Regions from separate parts of the Homo sapiens genome. Here all the other regions are linked to region 1. The links are contacts of gene promoters, found by promoter capture Hi-C in blood cells and fetal thymus (Javierre and others, 2016). All regions are on one chromosome and are shown on one strand. Each heading gives the region's core, a stretch centred on a gene start or on the middle of the fragment in contact. The rest is flanking DNA. Distances are from core to core; before and after follow the strand shown.

The links. The method cuts DNA at HindIII sites, captures the fragments that hold promoters and counts their contacts. A CHiCAGO score of 5 or more calls a contact.
Region 2: a contact is called between a fragment that was not itself captured here and the fragment with the promoter of UBE3A in region 1, in 7 of 17 cell types (naive CD8 T cells, total CD4 T cells, activated CD4 T cells and 4 more). The highest score is 9.0, in naive CD8 T cells.
Region 3: a fragment that was not itself captured here is called in contact with the fragment with the promoter of UBE3A in region 1 in 9 of 17 cell types (total CD4 T cells, naive CD8 T cells, naive CD4 T cells and 6 more); the score reaches 9.2 in total CD4 T cells.

What each region holds. Positions count from the first base shown.
Region 1 is chr15:25,437,585-25,441,776 of GRCh38, reverse strand. UBE3A (ubiquitin protein ligase E3A) reads left to right here and starts at 2,753. Exons shown (of 13, transcript NM_130839.5): 1 at 2,753-3,288. RefSeq lists enhancers at 1,746-2,691, 2,692-3,637 and silencers at 2,489-2,828, 3,189-3,608. The HindIII fragment of the contact is 4,364 bases long and covers 1-4,066 here.
Region 2 is chr15:26,068,952-26,073,287 of GRCh38, reverse strand. No RefSeq gene overlaps it. Among named protein-coding and RNA genes, the nearest start is that of TRE-TTC2-2, 11 kb to the left of the region's middle. The HindIII fragment of the contact is 6,546 bases long and covers 1-4,336 here.
Region 3 is chr15:26,092,784-26,097,062 of GRCh38, reverse strand. The region is part of intron 5 of LOC105370739 (a long non-coding RNA gene); the gene reads left to right. Among named protein-coding and RNA genes, the nearest start is that of TRE-TTC2-2, 13 kb to the right of the region's middle. The HindIII fragment of the contact is 969 bases long and covers 1,832-2,800 here.

The DNA.
Region 1 (4,192 bases), core at 1,504-4,003:
TGTAATCCCAGCACTTTGGGAGGCCGAGGCGGGCGGATCACGAGGTCAGGAGATCGAGCCCATCCTGGCTAACACGGTGAAACCCCGTCTCTACTAAAAATACAAAAAATTAGCCAGGCGTGGTGGCGGGTGCCTGTAGTCCCAGCTACTTGGGAGGCTGAGGCAGGAGAATGGCATGAACCTGGGAGGTGGAGCTTGCAATGAGCCAAGATTGCGCCACTGCACTCCAGCATGGGCGACGGAGCAAGACTCTGTCTCAAAAAAATAATAATAATAATAAAATAAAAAGTTTGTTAGTATTAGCAGATACATATTACTAGGTACCCCCCATGCTCAATGAAGTGTTGGGTTACTCTGAAAAAGTGTCCAATCTTACAGGTGTGACTTCCTCTGGAACTGCAAGTTCTTGAGGGCAGGGATAGAGATTGTTCATCTTTTATTGTTTCCCAAGGTCTGGCACATAAATAGTAGTTCAAGTAGTCCAACATATGACACATAAATAGTTCTGGGTAAACATTAGCTCAAAGTTTGCTCAAGGCATTGATGCAGATGCTTATAAAATTAAATTGCTCTTTTTACTGTATACCTGAAATGAGAAAATTATTAGAAACTACTGGGTCTCATTTGGACTAGAAAAGTCTGAAGAAATCACTGTTCACTTAGTAGATACAAAGTTGTTTTTCTGGGAAAAACACACCTAAAAAAAAAAAAACACATGGGTCTGATATGGGAGAATTTTTTTATTTTTCATATAAACAGGTGTATAGGGAAGTGGAACACTGCTAGTATCTTAAGGATTCCTGAAAGTATTTATGTTGGTAAGTTTGATGAGCAAACATTTCTAAATTTGAAAATGGATAAAACAAAAAGCACAGTGAAATCTTGAAAGAATTCTAATACTAATGTCACACATAAGAATACAGATTTAAAATTAATGAACTAAAACGGATATACGTAATTTCTCCAGGAGGAATTAAGATCCTCCTTGATCTCAGTAAAGCAATGAATAGTCATTCTGACATCTAGCTAAAAGCAGACTTATTTCCCTTCGGTCTTTAATCTTTTTGGAACTCAGGGATTTCCGCCACACTTTGATACACCAGGCCATTATAAAATTACACTTAATTTATTGTCAATTTCTACTTAAAAGGAAGAATACCTATAAGTATCTCCATATGCTAGATATAGTAGAAATGGTATGCTTTAATTAGTCCAACAATAAAGTCCTTAAAGATTTACATTCTTTGTTGCCTATTTTGAAAACTTGCGAAGATAAATTTTTTTAAAGATTATAATTCTTACTAGTCCTTTCCATGAAATATAACAGCAAATAGTTTCCAAATGTGGATGTGTAATGAGAGGAAATGAAAAGTGAGTAAAGAGCTGAGTTAAAACATCTTAAAATCGAATATGGCTTAATACTATCATTATCATCAGTTGTCCTGGAATAACTTAAATTCTTCTAGCTTATTGTTGGTTTTTCAATGGTTGGTTATAGTTGTGAGGCGGATACACACACACACCCACACACTTGGCTATACAAAAAAGATGTTCCGAGACTGACAGTTAAAAATTACACTGCTGGCCGAGCACTGTGGCTCATGCCTGTAGTCCCAAAACTTTGGGAGGCCGAGGTGGGAGGATCACTTGAGGCCAGGAGCTCGAGACCAGCCTGGGCCTAACATAGCAAGACACCATTTCTAAGTTTAAAAATAAAAATAAATTTAAAAAAGATACACTGCTATGTACGACTGTTGATATAAAAAATCTGAATACTAGACATGGGTACTCATCTAGTACTTCAAGGGCTTATCAACAAAGTTGCAAGTTGTAACACTATGAATTGTTAGTGATACTCTTTTGGCTTTGCTAGCAAGTGTTGTAAAGCTATACACACACACACACACACACACACACATACACACACACACCTTTTAAAATGGTGACCCTGGTACCAAATATGACTTTAAATGGATTTAATTTTAATGGCTTTAACTACGTTCAGCTGTCATATGGATCAAAATTAGCCTCTATCCAGCTGGGGTCAACCAGGGAGCCACTTTTCTTAACCGACGACCTACTGAACGTCAACAACTGCAGGAGACGGGACTTTACCTTCGTCTCTGGTAAACTAGTTGACACATCCTGTGTTGGCAAGAGGCCTAAGTAGATGACCTTGGTCCTCTAAAATCTGGCCTGCACTCTCGGGGCACCCCTGCAACATCTACAAAGGCAGCTCCAGATAGAAAAGGGTTGGGGTCGAAAAGCCAATAACGGCAGGCACCTGCCCCGCCTCGGGGCTGGGGGGCTATTCCAGCGGCTTCAGCTAACTTTCAGAGCCATTCGTTTCCCAACAAAGTCTGAGGCGTTCCTCTGCTGGGTACACCAAGGGGCTCTGCAACCCTCCTGGGGGGGGGGGTGCCCAGAGGGCTTCCGGAAGTCCCAGGTTTATTCTTTCGGGTCACAGACAGCAGAAACTAAAAAGAGGGATTACCCTTTCTGTCCAGTCGCAAGATGGCGACCGAGCCTGGTGGGACTCCGAGGGGCCGCAGGCCACCTCCTCTTCCCAATGGCCCGTGCGCCGGCGGCGACGGCAAGCGGGAGGGAGGCGGGGCCGGCGAAGGAAGGAGGGGCGGAGCGCGGCGCCCTCCCGCGCGTCTTGGCCCCGCCCCACGTCCCCGCGTCCCGGCCTGGAGCCCTCGCCCGGCCGGGCGGCGCGCGCTGCCTGCCGGGATACTCGGCCCGCCCAGCCAGTCCTCCCGTCTTGCGCCGCGGCCGCGAGATCCGTGTGTCTCCCAAGATGGTGGCGCTGGGCTCGGGGTGACTACAGGAGACGACGGGGCCTTTTCCCTTCGCCAGGACCCGACACACCAGGCTTCGCTCGCTCGCGCACCCCTCCGCCGCGTAGCCATCCGCCAGCGCGGGCGCCCGCCATCCGCCGCCTACTTACGCTTCACCTCTGCCGACCCGGCGCGCTCGGCTGCGGGCGGCGGCGCCTCCTTCGGCTCCTCCTCGGAATAGCTCGCGGCCTGTAGCCCCTGGCAGGAGGGCCCCTCAGCCCCCCGGTGTGGACAGGCAGCGGCGGCTGGCGACGAACGCCGGGATTTCGGCGGCCCCGGCGCTCCCTTTCCCGGCCTCGTTTTCCGGATAAGGAAGCGCGGGTCCCGCATGAGCCCCGGCGGTGGCGGCAGCGAAAGAGAACGAGGCGGTGGCGGGCGGAGGCGGCGGGCGAGGGCGACTACGACCAGTGAGGCGGCCGCCGCAGCCCAGGCGCGGGGGCGACGACAGGTCAGTGTTGCCGCGGCCTGCGCCAGGCGGCGCTGGCTCCCCTCCGTCACTCGGCCGGCCTTCGGGGCCCGCTGTGGCGAGGTCGACACCCCCCTTCCCCGCCCCCCGCCGCCGAGGCGAGTGTTTGGGGGCGCGTGGTCCGAAGGGGCTGGTGCCAGAAGTAGGCCCCTGGTGGCCGCGGCTGCTGCAGCCGTAACTGTCAGTCCTGGCTGAGCGACGGCGGGAGGGTTTTGTCGCCCGAGGGGACGCGAGCGGGCCCGGGGCGGGGCGGGACGTGCGAGGCGTCGAGATTTGGGCCTCCTAGGAGCCAGGCTCTTCGAGCCAGCCGGGGCCCCAGACAGGGAAGGGCAGGCCCTTTCCTTCAAAGGGGAGCCCTTTCTCGGCGTTTTCAAGGTTTTTGGCTCTCTTGGGGAAGACATATTTAGCCGTGTGCTTGGTGGGTTGGGGTTTTGGGGGTGGATTGATGGGAAGGGAGGGCGGATGAAGTGGTATGTCAAGCCCAAGGGTTGTGCGCACAGGTTACTCTGTGTTACCGGCCACCAGGATTTCTGAAGTTGAACGTGAGTTATTGGCTTTGCCAGAGACTGCTGTGTTATATGCAGACCTGTATGCAAGCAGTTGGCCTTTTTTCCCCCCCCTTTTCAGTGTAGAAAATGAAAAGGATGCTTTCCTCATCTTGGTGGTAAAGGCTTTTGTTGGTAAAGGTAGAATTGAATGTACCAAATGCCTTAGTCCGTAAAATTTTAGAAATAATTTTAATACAGACACTGGTGAAGCTTGGCAACCTTGAAAGAGAATTTAGCGTCTACATTTTTTAAATGACTTTTTATGGATATGCTAAATTAGTAACAGTCCAAAATCTGTTTGAGATTATTAAGTGGCGAGGGTGCTGTTGAAAATGTAA
Region 2 (4,336 bases), core at 186-2,685, 630 kb before region 1:
TTTTATCTATTGCTATCTTGAACAAGTCTGAATTTGTCTGATTTTGTTGTAAACATTGTACAGATTATGTTATCAACTATTTTTAAATGTTCTTAGGGAGAGAACAAAATGTAAAACAAAAAATGTTAATGAAAATCTCTGAACAGCAGTTACGGATGACTTTCCAGTTCTTCTCTATACTTGTCTGTATTTCTGAATGCTGTTCAATGAACAAGTATCATTTTCTAGACTCAGAAAAGGCTATGCTAACAAATTAGTGTATAGCTCTTCATCTTATGAGGTGTCAGGGCAAGAGTGGGGTGGGAATGTGAGAATGGTATCCACGTAGAGGGTGGGCCATCATGGGGTTTGGTGAAGGGAGTTTCCTCTTGGAGGAGTGGCCAAGCCTGGAGCATAGAGATCAAGCAGCATTAGGAAGGCAGTTATGCCTGGGAGGGAGAAAATGGTGGCAGAGATGGAAGACTGATCAATAGTGGAGGATTGAACAAATCAGTACATATATAAGGATAATGGGAAATAGGTTTCTTACTCTTAGAGAAGAGAGTTACAAATATGAGAAAGGGAAAAACTATAAAGAACACTGTGGATTTGGATTGGTATTGGAAGTATTGGTGTGAACTCCTGGTTTTTAATATGGATAAATAAAAAGATGATGGATAGATGATAGAGAGATAGTCTAATGATAGAGAGATAAATAATAGATGATAGATAATAGATGATATAGACTGATAGATGATAGACAGAGAAATTAATAAAGATGTACATGTGTATGTACATACATTTGTTCCCTAGCTCTGTCCCCTGAGAGAGCTTGAGAACATTAGCACCCTAGTACCAGTGAGCACAGCTAGTGCCCATGTGTAGTGAAAAATTTAGCCCTGCCCAAAGAAAAGTTCTGATCTTTGTCCCCCAGCTTCTGAGAGGCAATCTCTGGATCCCTGGAATATGATGCCTGATAAGATTGTGTCTGTTTTCCTGGGGTCCTTGGATCATACTGGATAGCCTAGCAATGTGATTTAGGGCAGGCACTGACCACATCCATAATACTCAACGTAGGGCTGGCCATCCTAGAAAGAACAACAATGTGGCTTAGGGTGAGAGCTTTTGGTCAAACAATATTAATCTATTTGGAGACTGAAATTAGCCATATGGGCAATGAATAATCGATCATGCCTACTTCAAGCTCCCATAGAAACTGTGGACACTGAGGCTCAGGTGAGCTTCCCTTGTGGGCACTACTCCTGAGTATTGTCTACACAGATACCAGTTCAGCAACATATCCTGATTGCATGAAAAGAGGAAAGTAGGAGCCCTGTAAGAATAGCTATGCTGCTGTGAAAAAAACTGTATTAGAGTGTGTTAACACTATTCCTGGTGTGAGACAATTCATGTTTCTTCCTCTGTTTCTACTACTTATATTTTCTAAATGTTCATAGTAAGCATGTGTTAATTTCAGAGTCTGAAATACACGCATGGAAGAACTAGAGGTTTCCCATTAGCTGCAGAGTCAAGCCCTCCTGGGAGGCACATGGCCCCATGAACTACATGCTTACAGCTCCCCAGCCCCTGCTTGTCCTGCTTCTCTGCACACACCTGCTTTATAGCCATGCTTCATGTCTCAGATTCAACGATATCCTGTTCTGGTTTGTGACTCTTTGCTCTAAAACAATCTCCTCTCTTTTCTGCCTAGTTAACACTTGCTTCTTAAGCTCCCATTCACATTTCATTTTCTCCTGGAAAATTGTCCCAAAGCCCCCAATTCTGAGAGTTCTCTATCCTCCCATATTCTACCGTACATATACCTCTGTTATAGCGTGTTTCCCCTGACGTCTTGTGGTACTGATTGCTCATGCTGACCTCTAGATGTCAAAACTTTGGAAGCGGTTACTAGATCTTACTGTCTTTGTGTTACCCACACCTACCCAGTCATCGACACAAGGCCAGTCCCTAAAGTGTTGATGAGTGATGGATGAATTAACTGACATAATTATAATTCAGTGAAACTCAGCTAAAATCACCTAGATAGGCAGATTTTGCTTCGTTTATTCATTCCTTCATTTACAAAAATGTAGTGAGCCCCTTTTATGTGCCATGAAATGAGTTAAGAGAAAAGATATTTTCTTTGCCTCCAGGAGCTCACAGTCTAAAAGGCGAGATGAGCTATTAACCATTAACATAGGACATGGCGAGTGTGTACAAAGACAGAAGCGTGGGGCGATGGTATCACATAGGAGCACACCTAACCCATCCCGGAGGTGGGGGATTGAAGCACCCAAAGCCAGCGCATGGAAGCCCATAGAAGCCAGGCCTGGAGTGGATGGTGTGAATGCAGGGCCTTGGGAGGCCTGGGTCTTCACCTCAGCTTCCTGTGCGGTGGACATGTCATCTCCTTATATTGTCCGAATTTCCACAACTATAGAAAGAGTCTGTGTCTCTTCTTTTCCATGCATATCAAAAGTAATTGTCTGCTGTCTCCTCTAGACATTGCCAGCGCGTTTTCATATCTGTACATACCTGGGTAGGGGGGCTACTGGGCCTCCTGACATGAGGTGTTAAGAACCAGAGAATCTCCTGCTGAAATAAATAGGTTACCAAAGGAAAAAAAAAAAAAATATATATATATATATATAATATATATATTCATCCTACATAGCAGACATTAAAACACTTAACAAAACCCACCAGCAATAAAAACGATGTATTAAGATTTTTTAAGCCAGTGGTATTTTTGATGTTACATGACAGCCTTCCTTTGTGGTGACTGCTGTATTTTTTAGCCTTGCTTTGATCACGGCTGCTGGAGACAGCTGTTTCTATGCTCCCCGAAAGCATGTGGCACCGACATTCGTCATGTGGTTCTGGATAGCCGCCATCCGTCATCTCCTCTCCCAGTGAGTTTCACTCTCCCATCACTCTCTGCATTCTCTGATCAGTTATCCCAGTGTGGGAAAAACAAATCTGCAAGCCAGCCTCCTGATTTACCACATTAATCTATTATTCAATAATAACGTTCCTTACAGAGCTGCATTAATTAAAAGCAAGCACCACAAGAAAACTGTCACTTCGAGTGTCATTTGTCACAACAACCTGATGTTCTTTTCTTTCTGTCATTTTTAGAACTTTGGTTGCCATGGTAACCCATAGCAGCTTTTATATATAGCATCACTTATACTCAGTTAGTTTATTTTATTTCATTTTTTTGGTACCATCAAGAAGACAAGCTGTTTTTTTCCTCCTTTTAACAGAGCTTATAATGTGGTGGAATAATCAGGCCTAATGACAGGTTAATCCACAAAGGAATATTACATGTTAAATGAAAAATTATTATTCTACATCTGTATATTAAAATTCACTGTTTAAAAAATACTCTCTAAGAAGAAGCAAGTCCAGGTTTAGTCTCCTAGGTACTGGCTCATTAGAAGTTCGTAGCCCTAGGATGCAATTAGTATCCTATAAAATAGCAGACAAGCAAAACAACTGCAGATTCAAGGGAAATCCAGGTATGCATAACAAGCAATACTCAGCTTCGAGCTGGCTTCTTTGCCTCTCTGGGGTTGTGGGGCTCGCTGACCCTGCCCAGGCTTCTTCTGGGGCGCTCAGTTCTTGCTACCCACCCACCAAGAGCCAACTCCAACGTGTGCTGAGAGCAAAGCCTTCCTGGAGCTGGTAGTCAGAAAAAGTGGTCTTCAGCAGGGTACAGATAGCCTTCTAGAAGAGTCCACACTACTTGCCAAGCAGGGAGAGACTGAGTGGGAAGCAGCACAGGCAGATACTGTGTCTGAATGTGGTATCCAAGCCAGTGCACCCTGTGTCCACAGGCCATTCTCAATTTTCCCCTAAGCCCCTTCACCTTCTAATCCTGCCAGTCTCATTATTTCTAAGCTCATCCGAGTCTATTTTCATTTTGTTTCACCTTCTAATTGTAAGCCCCTGGCCTGAGCTGATCCTTCTTTTTTCTCCCATTCAAATCCTACTATCCTGAAACAATCCAAGTCCTGTTTCCTTGGTGACTCCTAACACTTTAGCTCTTGGCAACCTTTTAATTTCTTTCTTAATCTTCATTTCCCTGAAGGACTGCAGCACTCAGCAATTAAATATATGCCCACATTTCATTTAATTTGACATATACTTATTGGGCATTTACTACATGCCAAGCCTTTTATGAGGCACTGTGGAAAAAAAAGATGAACAAATTGAGGTTCAGATTCAAAAGATTTTAGTATAGTGGGAAAAAAACAAAATGAGAACAAGATCATTCCAGTATAATTTAGTAAAAAAGATGTTCACAATGCAGACAAATGTATAAGCCGTATGTAAAAATATCTGGAGTTTCCTG
Region 3 (4,279 bases), core at 1,067-3,566, 660 kb before region 1:
AGAGAACACCAGGAGCACCCTTGTGATTGAACAAGGTGGGTTTATTGCTAGTTGCAGTGAGCAGAACACACACCACAGAGAACCATGGCATCTCAGCAAGGAGGTGTCAGAAGCTTTTATATGATTTGGGCTTACGTTGATGAATTGAGGAAGATTCAAGGGAAGGGTTTGCTTTATTTTGGAAATCATACAAAAGCAGAGGCAACTCAGTCACTCGGTGTCTCAACTAATCTTATCTGTGGGGAGGACAAACCAGACTAGTGCAAGTGTAAATATTGTAATTGATAAGGAGCTGTCGTCACTCATTTTAGCCAAGAGAGAAGGATGTTTGGTATTTTGTGGGTGGCACAGCAAACTTGTTTTTGTCTGTGCTTAAATAAAATTATGAAATGGGCTTATTTTGTCTCACTGTATCATGGCCTCAGAGTAACCTTGTCTGAAGTTGGTGTTTGCAGGATTGAGTGTGTGCACAAGGAGAACAGGATGGTCTAGTTGGGAATACCAGGCCAGCTTTTCAGACATCAGGCCTGTTTAGTTTGGTCTGTTTTTTTTCTTTCTCAAAAAGTAAAGTTTGGGGGAAAATAGATATAAGCAAAGAATTAGCATTAACTAAGCATACTATGGGATGGGAAGTGAATTGCAACAACGTGTACAAGGTAGACTGGTGGTGTTAAATCAAGTTTAGCCCAAAGCTGTCTCCTTACATATTTTAAGTTCAGTCTAAAAGTTTCTCTGTACATCGTGAACTGTAACGGGTGGAGGTGTAAACAGACGGCAGCCTACACTTGTGCCAATCACTGAGTTTTGGCCAATCAAATGTAGGCAACTGTTTAAACCATGTTCAAATAAGGCAAACGGCAAGCTGTACCCATTCCAGCTGTTTCTGTACCTCACTTCCATTTTCCTTATGTTACTCTCCTTTTTCTGTCCATAAATCATCTTCTACTACGTGGCTGCGCTGGAGTCTCTGAGTCTACTCCGACTCAGGAGGCTGCTCGATTCGCGAATCATTCATTGCTCAATTAAACTTTAATTTGGCTGAAGTTTTTCTTTTATCAGATGGCGTCAGAACAGATCGAGGTAGAGCTTCTAGCGACCCCCGTGAGCACTGAGTGACCAAGCGAGGGACCCGCCGGGCTCCTTGTGCCCGTTGCTCTCTCAGGGCAGCAGGGGGCGGTGGTAAGATCTCGCTCAGATTCCAAAGCTCCATGGATTTGTATTTTGAGCTCTCCGAGTTTCTTTGAGCAAATTTCTGATGTAAACTTGGTTTGGAAGTCGTGACAGAAACTGCACTGCGTGCGTAATTGGGTTGGATGCAGTAATTAACTGACTTAGAGGCCTCTTACATCTGACTGGGGCAGAAAAACAAATGGTGGTAAATGGCAATATTGCAGGGAGTGTAAATTTGGCTTTTTGGAATTCGCAGGGATTTTTGTGTTCTACTCCTTTGTGTCATTTTTCTTGAGTGCTTAGATAGGAAAAATCATTGGCAAAGCTGATAAAGGGTACCTGAGAGAAAGCCAATATTTTAGGTGAAAATGGGATCCTTAATTTCTGAAGAACTGAGTTCCTTCTGGCTTATACATGCATAAGTATTAGGCCCCAGAAGCCACAAAGTCTGACAGAAATGGTGAAATCTTACTAAACATAACTTATAGTGGAATGTTCCAAATGAACAACACTGCACTGAAGTGCGTTTGAAAATGAGGGCTCCCAAATTAGTCTCATCTAGAGATGCCTATTGATAGGCAGAAGCTTCTAAATGGATTTCAGTATTTTTATTTAAAGACTTTATGAAAGTCAAATAAAAAGCTTAAGTCAAATAAAAGCTTTGATTAAAAAAAATTAAATCTGCTAACTTTTGGCTTAGTTGTGATCTCGAGCCAAAGGAAATAGGCTGTAGCACCAACTGGCTGACTCTGGGAAAGTAGTGGGGTACATTTTACCGGGGTAAAAGATAGGAATGGGTTAGAGGCTCTCCCTTCAGTAAAGTCCCTCTCGGTTAAAAATGGATTTGATACTATGGGATGTTAACTGCTATTTTATTGGGATTAATCTGCCTTCTACTTTTTCCTGATGGCTGTGGGGGACAGGATTAGGCATGTACAGGCTCACTGGACATGGGGAGCTTTTTCCTTCCCAAAGGGGAAAACTTGAGAGCTGATGGGACTGCTGGAAAAGATCCCTTCATGACCGACGAGTGGCCGCCTGAACTTCTGATTCAGTATCACTGCAATGGGTGGGTCTTTCTCTGGGTTCCCTGAGTTCCTCACCTTCCCCACCCTGCTGCAGGCAATTCTTCTGTCTTTCTCTGTCTCTCTGCAAACCAGTTGTTAGAATGGTTAAAAATCACTCTCTCTTGCAAAGTTTTAATTAACGGGCAAAAGTATTCGTGAGGCCAGTCTTAAGCTGTAGCGAATCTGGTATACCTTGTGCTATGAATTTGTCTTTCTGTGTCATTCTGTCATGAAGAGGGGAACCTTAGGATAGAACGCAGGCTTAGGACCTTGTCCTTTCACAGTGGTGGCCCAGGTTCAGGATTCAATTCTGGCCCAAGAGAATGAGTCCTTTCTGGTTTGATGTCTGTGTAACTTTGGCCATTTGTTGATCTTCTTCCCCTCCATGGACAATTTCTAGCTTCCCTTGTAGAATCTTCCTTTCTCTGATCCACCTTTGGAGAGTCTAGATTTTTTAAAAACTGCTAACCACCTCTTTGAAAATACCTCATACAGTCGTGGTTAAGTCAGAACCTTAATTGAGGCTTACTGGTTTTGCCTGTGAGGTTAGTTTTGATAAAGCTTAAAAGCCAGAAATATTCACCATTTGGCCTGGCTAAAGTAGGGTAATAAGAAATTTTAAAAAGCGCTATGGTTAAAAGTCAGCTTAATTAAAAGCAGATATCTAAGCCACGCATATATTTAAAGGGTCTTTATGATTTTTTCTCTTCTTGAATCTTCTTTTCTGGAGAAAAAAGGTTTTTTTCCTTCTCAGTTGGCTGAATAGCTTTTCTCCATTTTGTCTTGCCACTCTTGATGCACACAAGAGAGGATCTAAGAGAACTTCTTCTAACAGCTTGGGACTCCTTGGGGAAAATGGAGGAGGTGCCATAGATCCTGCTTTGGGAAAAACCTGTTTTCCTCGTGAAACCCCAGGAATTGAAAGTAGATAGATCCCTCTCAAAATCTATGGCTAAATATAATTTTAGGGATGGCTAATGGTAACTATGGGGGACACACAGCTTTTTGCACATTTGGATCAGAAAAGCATGCTCACGGCCAGCTAGAAAGTATGGAAATGCCCCCACCCCGGCTGAGAGATAAGACTCCCCTGGGGGATGGGCTGATCACAGAATGGACTGATCAGCTTTGGGTTACTTTGCAATCAAATGCACAGGAAAATGATTGCACTGTCTTGTTCCACAGCATTTCTCTTTTGGGGATCCAGGAGTCAGTATGATAATAGAACCCTGTATTTTGGGGGATCTGTTTTGCCTTCCAGCTGTGCCTGTTTATTAGACCCTAAAAAATAACTGCGTGTTTTCCTAGCCCTGTTCCTCCAAGGACTCCACCATGAAGCCAGTAATCCAATTAAGAAACTTTAAAACTGGCAAATGAAAAATCTTACAACTGCTGGATCTTCTTCTGTCTTTCTGTGTATTTATATTATTGCACATGTGATGTTTATATATGAAAGAGCTCTGATTAATTGGCTTAAAAATAATAAGTGCTTAAATCAAATATTTTGTCAGAAAAGTAAAAAATGTAATGCTTTTTAGTTCACATGACTTCAGTAATCTTTGGGAAATAGAAACAGCTATAAAGGTTATTGGTAAAATAAAGACATTTGGTCTAAATTAGGCAAGTCAGATATTAGGTTTACTAAATACTTTAAGGTCATAAACTGCTTTGACTTTTGAAAAGTGTTCGACTGAACTGCTTCAGAGCTATTAGATTCTAAATAAGGCCTGGGGACAAGTGGAGTTACCCATGCCCCTGGCTATGCTGGAAAGAGTCAGACTTTATCTGCACTTCTGTCTGGTGTTCTAGGTTCCAGACTTGGTACATAATCAGAATCGCTCACTTACCAGGTTTTTCACCAAAAATAAAACTTGCTAAGTGAGGCTGGGTGCGGTGGCTCACGCCTATAATCCCAGCACTTTGGGAGGCTGAGGCTGGCAGATCACCTGAGGTCAGGAGTTTGAGACCAGCCTGGCCAACACAGAGAAACCCCGTCTCTACTAAAAATACAAAACTTAGCCAGGAGTGGTGTGAGTGCCTGT